Linked DNA regions of Homo sapiens: all the other regions are linked to region 3. Evidence: promoter capture Hi-C in 16 types of primary human blood cells and fetal thymus (Javierre and others, 2016). All regions are on one chromosome and are shown on one strand. Each heading gives the region's core, a stretch centred on a gene start or on the middle of the fragment in contact. The rest is flanking DNA. Distances are from core to core; before and after follow the strand shown.

What was found. The method cuts DNA at HindIII sites, captures the fragments that hold promoters and counts their contacts. A CHiCAGO score of 5 or more calls a contact.
Region 1: a contact is called between a fragment that was not itself captured here and the fragment with the promoter of GATA6-AS1 in region 3, in 1 of 17 cell types (endothelial precursors). The highest score is 8.1, in endothelial precursors.
Region 2: a contact is called between a fragment that was not itself captured here and the fragment with the promoter of GATA6-AS1 in region 3, in 2 of 17 cell types (endothelial precursors and megakaryocytes). The highest score is 7.6, in endothelial precursors.

Annotation. Positions count from the first base shown.
Region 1 is chr18:22,691,243-22,694,074 of GRCh38, reverse strand. No RefSeq gene overlaps it. Among named protein-coding and RNA genes, the nearest start is that of RBBP8, 240 kb to the left of the region's middle. The HindIII fragment of the contact is 1,929 bases long and covers 476-2,404 here.
Region 2 is chr18:22,708,143-22,710,865 of GRCh38, reverse strand. No RefSeq gene overlaps it. Among named protein-coding and RNA genes, the nearest start is that of RBBP8, 220 kb to the left of the region's middle. The HindIII fragment of the contact is 7,836 bases long and covers 1-2,723 here.
Region 3 is chr18:22,167,477-22,170,217 of GRCh38, reverse strand. It overlaps GATA6-AS1 (GATA6 antisense RNA 1 (head to head)), which reads left to right and starts at 1,250. Exons shown (of 2, transcript NR_102763.1): 1 at 1,250-1,551; 2 at 1,835-2,741. GATA6 (GATA binding protein 6) reads right to left here and starts at 629. Exons shown (of 7, transcript NM_005257.6): 1 at 536-629. RefSeq lists an enhancer at 2,481-2,741. The HindIII fragment of the contact is 8,900 bases long and covers 1-2,741 here.

The DNA of each region.
Region 1 (2,832 bases), core at 191-2,690, 520 kb before region 3:
AGCATGTCCCCAGAGTCTTCTTTTTTGGGAGTAAATGATGGCGCAGTCTCCAATGGTAGGAGAGGTATCTAGGTGAGGAGGCAATACAAACCCACTCAGTGATTGGGGGAAGCTTAAACAGCAACCTGTGCACAAATTCAAGAAAGCCTGGAGTCATCTTTGCTGGGAGCCATGAAGAGAAATGATGGATGACAGGCAGGAAGGTGTGAATTTCAAATGTGCTGACAGTTGGCCGAAGGTGTCTGTGTGTGGAGTTCATGTCAACTGCATGCTCAGCAAAACATCTTATTGTCAATGGCCCTGGGAAAATGGTCTCTTGTTAGCATCTTTCAATGACAACTACATGAAGGAGTCACTTGAATTTTTCCCTTGTCTAGATGTAGTGACTTGTGACCTAAGGAGTGCTAGTGAGTAGACAGTTATGGCAAACCTAGTTTCACCAAAGGAAGAATCCTCATTCTTTGCCCTAAAAGCTTGCTAGTTATGATGGAATGAATGAATGTAACACTAGCAGAATGCCGGAAGTCTTTAAGATGCCTGGACTGCAGGACCAGAAGCTCAGAATTCTGGGGGTCATAAACGTTTGACTTCTTCAGCGGAGATGGTTACATATGTTTTATTCATAAGACCCGTTGTCCACATTAGGTTATGGTGTTGAGAAGGGTCAACAAGCCTAGAAATATGTATTGTTCAATTCAGTAAATACCTATTGAATTGAATCAAGGCAGAATAGAAGTGTTTCCAGGTGCCTTGTCTTCTCCAAATGACTTTTTTTGTGTGCCTAGTAAGAGAATACTTGAGTTGACATCATGCCAAGTTTCAACCGTTGGTCATATATTTTCTAGATAAATGACTCTCGCTCCCCCTTTGGATTTCAGAGAGGAAAGACTCTCAAATTTGGGATGGGGCCCCAAGGACCTTCTTAAGTAGCGTTGACAAGTCTCCAGATGGGTTAAGGATATTCCTGATGTTAGGCACTGAGAAGTCTAGCCCCACAGTGTGCGCACACACTACCAAATCTTAGAAGACCATTTGTTAACAATATATTTTCATTATATTTTTAAGATTCTTCTTGGGTGGCCAGAATTTTAGCCATCAGCTGTAGGCTGGGATTGGGTGATAAAAACTCCATGCCTTCAATATTAAAACAGAGATTGGAGTCAAAAGAGGATCCATTCATCCTAGTCCCATTCCCTCCCCCTACTCCCTACTCACATGTTTTTATTGCACTCATGATCGCTAGTACTATTTACATTTTAAAGGCCAGTGGGATTTGAAGGCCTGTGCCTATCCATATTCTATATATTGGTACTGGGAGCTTATGTTAGATTTGAATTTTCTTACAAATAAGGCCAGCTGTCTCTGGGTCTGTAATGCTCTTTTAGGATCTTGGGGAAAAAAGGAGCCAGGCTGATATGAAGATTACTCAGCTCCCTTCCCCACCCACAGACATCTCTACCCATTCACTGAATGATTTGCAAGTGAGCTATGAAGAGAACTTCCCCGCCAGAGGTCTTAAACTATACATAAGGATATTTTGCAAGAGCAGCAGAACAGAAACAAGTTCAAAAGGACAGAGGAAAAATGCTCCAAATCTGTGGCAAACAGGATTTCACTGAAATTTACAGGATTCTTTGGATATGCCTTTGATTCATGCACTTATTTCCCAACACTTTGAAACTATTTCAAGTAGTATTAAAATAAATAAAAACTTTTCTCTGTAATGAAAAATTTAAAATGTCTACTTTTATAGACAAATTGAAAAATGACTATTGCTTAAGTTTGTTTTCTTAAGCTGAGTGTTTTTTTAATTGGGGGGATGGTTATAAGAAACTACATTCTCTCTTTCGCTCAACAATAAATGAAAAACACACTTTGTGATTTAGCCAAAGGAAGTTAAAGATGAATCTTTAGGGAGAGGAAGTCATGCAACTGTTATCATGTTAATCTTCCACTGTAAGAGTGGGGCTAAGAGCCAGATTTGCTGTTTATAGCAAATGAACAGAACTTGAATGGTTAAAGAAATCCTCCAGTTCTCAGATCTGGTGCCTGTAAGCCAGCTTGACATGTTTTCTAGTGTCCTTCTCCTTCACACATACTAAATACTTGAAGTGACTAGAGATGAAAGTTGGGTTATTAGATATGAAATGCCTCCTCATTTATTCCTCTTCAGTAAATGTCTCTGTGTAATCATGACCATAAGCCACCACGAAATTGCATTTCTATGTTAGTTTTACTGGACAATTCTCTCTTCTTAGTCTCTGCCTCAATTTTCTAATCTATTAATGGGAACAATGAAAGGCAAATGGAAGGGGGCATGTGATGACTTTAGTTTGGCATGGAAGCAGGGATGTGGATTAAGTGGTAGGAAAGACCTTTCCCATTTTCTATTTAATTCTAAGCTTCGTTATTTGTTTGAGTGTCTTTGAAATTCCTCTTTCATTGGGTCTCAGTTTCTTTCTTTGAGTTGAGTTCAATACCTTAGCTTAGTGATGATAATGTAAGAATACTTTTTTAATGGTTGAATTATCCTAAGATGAAAGGCATGATTAATAAAGAAGAGAGTAATTTGGGGGAACACTAAGAGAGATGATGGCATATTGGAAGAAAGTAGTCTGGGAGGCTAGCATTCTAGTTTCTACTAGTAACTTGCAGTGAGTTTTCAGTAGATCTCTCAATGGCTCCAAATTGGTTTTCTCAAAGTGACATGATAAAGTTATAGCAAATGACCTCTAAGAGCCTTGAAAGATTCAATTGAATTGGCATTATTCTGCCTTCCAGCTCTTGGTTCACCATAATTTTGTTTTTTGATTCATTCAGCAGATGTCCACT
Region 2 (2,723 bases), core at 116-2,615, 540 kb before region 3:
TTTAAAGAATTAGTGACTCAGAGGTGCTTGCAGGAATCTAGGAATTCCCAGGCTGAATCCCTCCCTCCAAAGACCCAGAACTCTCTCACAAACTTGGGAGCGCTTGCACTTCTCCCTATACCCATGGCTTTAATGGGTGCCAAAACACTGCATTGAATGCAACTGAAATATAGGATTAATATTTTCAAAAGGCACTTAAGATAAATGGCTTTATAAAAAAGAAAAAAAACCAAGAAACACTGAAAATGGCACGTCTTTCTAATGTCTCAATCTGCTATCAGTAGTTACCCCACTATTCTCCTAATCTCCCATTTCAAAAGAAAATCATCTTTGATGACCTTTCCTCCTTGTTTACTGGTCTTAACTGCCCTATATTACTGGTCCTACTGGTCCCACGTATAGTGAGAATATGCAGTGTTTGGTTTTCTGCTCCTTTGGAAAATCAGTTTTGATCAAGAGCCCTGACACATCTGAAAAGACAGTGGAAATAAAATTACTTCTGACATCGTGGTTTTCCCTCACTAGTTTAGAACCAACATAAGAGAAATGTTTGAATGCCCAACTTAGCAGCAATTCAAATGAATCCCACAAGAACAGGAAACCAAGTGGAAGTTCAAATATAAGGTATGCCCTAAAGTTGCCATCAATAATCCCTGAAATGAAAACAATGAAATTGGAATATTGTTTGGGTAGCCCTCCCACCTGGTAACTAAACCAGGAATCAGCCTATTTTCATCATTTCCAGTTGAAGAACTAGCAAAGTGGAGAAAGTCCAACAGAAAGTGGGCAGTGATGTTTGCTCCTTTGTCAATGACAAAATCATGTAGCAATTTCCTGGCCTGCAAAAACATCCCAATAAATCTCTTCTGTATATCATTAGGAAGAAGTTTTGTGGAGCTGGGTGGACTTCAGAAGGCTGCTAACCTTGAGCAGCTCTGCTGTTATCCTGCCCTTATTGCTCAATGGAAAATTCAGCAGAATCACCAAGTAACAGGAGACTAGGTTCAGGGCCATAAATCTCCAAGAGATGCTCACTGACATCCACGGTGCTCTGCAGAATGAGTCTAACAAGGTCATTCTTGCTGAGCTTCCTTTCAGTTGGAGGCTACAGCTCACTGTCAGGCCCAGAGCCAGGCTCTCTATCATCGAGAAAACCCAAGGGTCAGGGGTGGGAGGCTGTGAAAGGTAACTTTTAGGCTGGGCCCCAGTGTCAAATGGAACCTGGGTGGAAGCCCTATACAGAACGTCAGCTCCTTGGAGTCCTCTGATCCTTTTTTTGCACCTGCTACTTTAGCCTTACCATGCAGTCTTCCAGGGACTTCCCACATTCATTGCATCAAATGTAAACTTCTGGCCACTGTCTTCAAAGTCTTCTCATTTTACTTCAAACATCAGAGCATACCTTTGACTCACTCTTGGGTCTAGCCACAGTGTTCTTTTGATATCTGCACGTGGCTTTCTCTATTCTAAACCTTTCTTACCCATCAATGCAATGACTGAATTCCTTTTCTTTGAATTTGCTGGAGGTGACGAAAATACCAAAGAACAAGGAGAGTAGCAGGGGCCAGAAGCATATTTGGGAGCCCTTTTGTAGCAATAGTGGGAGAGGGTGGTGAGAATCCAACCAATATGAGAAATCCAGGCCAGGCATAATGGCACACGCCTGTAATCCCAGCACTTTGGGAAGCTGAGGTGGGTGGATCACCTGAGGACAGGAGTTTGAGACCAGTTGAAACCCCATCTCTACTAATAATACAAAATTTAGCTGGGTGTGGTGGCACCCGCCTGTAATCCCAGCTACTCGGGAGGCTGAGGCAGGAGAATCGCTTGAACCCGGGAGGTGGAGGTTGCAGTGAGCTGAGATGGCGCCACTGCACTCCAGCCTGGGCAACAAGAGTGAGACTCCACCTCCAAAAAAAGGAAAAAGAAAAAGAAATCCAGTCAGCAGGAAGATGGGGCTCACTCTACCTGGGAATGTAGGACGGTGTCTTAGAGCTGCCGCAGAGCTGCAGTGGGAGGATTAGGGACTCTGGAGCACTTGTGTTCTGCATTCGTCTTGTATAGACACTGACGTGTTATTTCATTTGCTCCTCACTGCAGTGTCATGAGGTAGACAAAGCAGGCATTATTGTTCCCATTTCGGAAGTGAGACAACTGAGACTTAGAGAGATTACATCACCTTGCCCAGTAAGTTTGAACCCAAGTGTTGTCATCATTAACTACATACTGTATATTTTATGTCAGATTCAATAGTTTCTGATGTAAAGGCCCAGATTTTAAGTGTTTTAGGCTTTGTGGGCTACACGGTCCTTATCACCACCAGTCTGCTCTGCTATTGTAGCATGCAGTTATTCATACAATACATTAAAATGGGGGCATGGCTGTGTTCCAATAAAGCTCTATTTACAAACATAGGTGGTAGGTTGGATTTGGACCCTATCCTATGCTAGAAAGCTATAACCGATTTTATGTGAAGAGTAAAGATTCACAGGGTATTAAATACACTTGTGCATTTTAATTCTCAAAAAGTAAATATTGGCCGGGCGTGGTGGCTCACACCTGTAATCCCAGCACTTTGGGAGGCCGAGGTGGGCGGATCACGAGGTCAGGAGATCAACACCACCCTGGTTAACACGGTGAAACCCCGTCTCTACTAAAAAAAGTACAAAAAAATCAGCCGGGCATGGTGGTGGGCACCTGTAGTCCCAGCTACTTGGAAGGCT
Region 3 (2,741 bases), core at 1-2,500:
GAGAAAAGGAGGGGGAACGCAACGGGCTGGGGAGGGGGGAGCGTGAGACCGCCCCAGAGCCGAGGCGACCCCAAATGGGAGAGCAGGAAGAATGACAGGGAGACTCGGAGCGAGTGGGGGAGGGAGGTGAAATGCAGCCGGGCTGGCCTCCTCCAGGCTGCTCTTCCAAATCGCCTCGGCTCATCGGAGATTACCACACTAAAATTAATGCCCACACACAGACCTGGCTAGATAGCAAGAAAGAAGTTTCTCTGCCTGCCTAACTACCGGCTCCCGCCCCTTTGCGCCGAGATAACTCGGAGATAAGGCTGCGCGCAGATAAGCGCTTCGAGGAGAGAAAAAGAGACTAGAAGTTGGTCCGCGGTGTCCCGGGAGCCTGGGAGCCGCCTCAGCCCGCCCGGAGGGAAGGAGGGAAACACCGTCGGAGCCGACCGCGGCCTGGAGAGGGCCGGAGAGCCGGAGGCCAGGGGCCCGCGACGAGTAGGGGTGGAGGGGAGGAAAGCGGGGAGATCGCGCGAGGAGGAAGCAGCCGAACCTCGGGCGGGCGCTGCGCATGGAGAACGGCCGCGGCGGAGGGTGCTCCCAGGCGCGGAGAGAAGCCGAGGGCGCCAGCGGGCGAGCGCGAGTCCGGGGTCTGCGCCGCGCTGCTGGTGAATAAAAAGGAGAGAGGAGGCGCCTCTTACTGCTCTGCCGGAAAACTGCAGCCTGGGCTCCTGATTGGACTCACCGAGCCCTAAACAAACAGCGCTCGCCGAAGGGTGCCAGGCTGTGGGTCGGAACTGCGCTCAGCGAGCAGCTGGGCGCTGGAGGTGAAGAGGAGGAGGAGGGATCGAGGGGAGGAGAGAAAAGAGGGTGGGGAGGGGACGGCGAGGGGGGAGGGGAGCGCGCCGCCCAGGCAGACAATGAGAGCCGCGCTGCCTGCGGGCGTGGGCTGAGCCGCAAGCCCTGTCCCCGGAGTGGGGGCGAGTCCACCCGGGGGGCACCGAGCCCAGGGACCCCGGGGGAGGGGCGGAGGCCACAGAACGCCTGACCTGGCTAGCGACCCGCACCCATCCAGCGGCGGTGCACCCTCCCGCTCCCGCAGTCGCACACACACACCCACACGAGGGAGGGGGAGGGAGCCTTGGCACGGGAGGAGTTGGCAGTGCACAGTCCCGCGCCGCCGCCGCGGCGGGAGGGGCGCTCCAGACCTTGGGTCAGCACGCCCCCAGAAGGAAGGGGGAACGTGCTCTGCGCCCCCCCGCCCCCCAACCCCCGCCTAGCCCCTTCACAGCAAATGCGCTTTTTGCCCTGAAGTTGTGTGAGACCGACCTTAAACTTTCTCCGACCCTATCTCGGGATGCTACGGCTCAGGTCGTGGTGGTTTCGGGAACCTCAAGACAACATTCCCCAGCTGACCTTTGGGAACTTTAACTCGGGTCGTCATGTACGGAAAGGTAGTCTATGGGGTACGCAGAATGGAAAAGGGCTTCCACATCAGTCGTGTCCGAGGACGCTCTCCAACTTTTGATGTCCCTGGAGAGTTTCTGATATTTCCCTGGAGAGTTTCAGGTAAGTCACAGATAAGTCACTGCGAAGAGGGGGTGTCACCTTCCCTGGACCCAGCGCTAAATGCTGCTTCCCCACCCCCACGTTCATATACACACCCCCTCTTCGCTCCCTCCAAACAGTTATCACAACTCTGTACAAACTGATACGGTCCCTAGCGGGCAAAAGGGACTGGAAATGAACGTCGCGGGGTTATCAGCGCCGATCTGTCAGCGGCAACTCGCGCGGCCGCAGGCTCGTCCGCTGCAGGAGCCGTGATATATGTCTCGCTCCCTTTCGCTTACAGAAAGGATTTCTTCCGACAGACGTGACCCCAGAAGGCTGCCGAGGGAGACTTTAGGACAAGAGGCGTTGTTTTTGTGAGAATGAATTTTTATACTTTACCCCGACCCCACCCCCTACCCCCCGCCCAGGTAAATCCAAGTAAATGATTTTCTGAAGGTCGGTCTCCTAGAAAGCGTTTAGGCTCTGGTTTTTTGTTTTGTTTCTATTTTCGTGTTTTCCCAGTTAGGGAAGGAAGAGGAGCCTGTGCAGAGTTGAACTGGGGTGGAGAGGTGCCTTGTAAAGTATGGTTTCCAGAGATGGTGAGACCTCGTAGCTAAGCGTTGTTTCCTCTGCACGTAACTGTGAGTTGTGAACTTGTGGCTCCTGGGGGAGCGGGACAGGGCCTGGCAGTGCGGGGGAGGGGGCAAGGAATTCAGGAAGTTGGCGAGAATTCTTCGTTTTTCATTCTTCGTTGTAAATTGCTTCTAAACACTTCTGAATTTTAAATTGCTACCGAGAAGGTCCAGAAACCGTTCTCATCCAATTTAGTCACTTTTATTACGTTCCACTTTGCCTCCCCCAATCACTGCGGCGGCTCCCAGTTTCAGCGTGGCCGCATTTGGAAAAGGCTGAAGGTAGAAAACTCTGGAATGGAGAGGCTGGCGACTGGAGCAGGATCCAGGGGCTTTAAATTTTAACCTGAATGCGATCGAATGCGCGACTCCCAGAAGAGATAGCCAGGCGTCCGCCCGGCCGCTCAACCCCCGCCAGGACTCGGAATGCCTTGCTTTTGGTTCTTTTCGTGAGTTCCGACCAAATGTTTAAGTGGACTGGGTTTTGCAGAAGCTCATTTGTAAGCACTGACGGAAATGGGTTGTGGGCATTTGATTTCCTTTGATTCCAACGTTTTGAAATAATGTTTCTCGGAT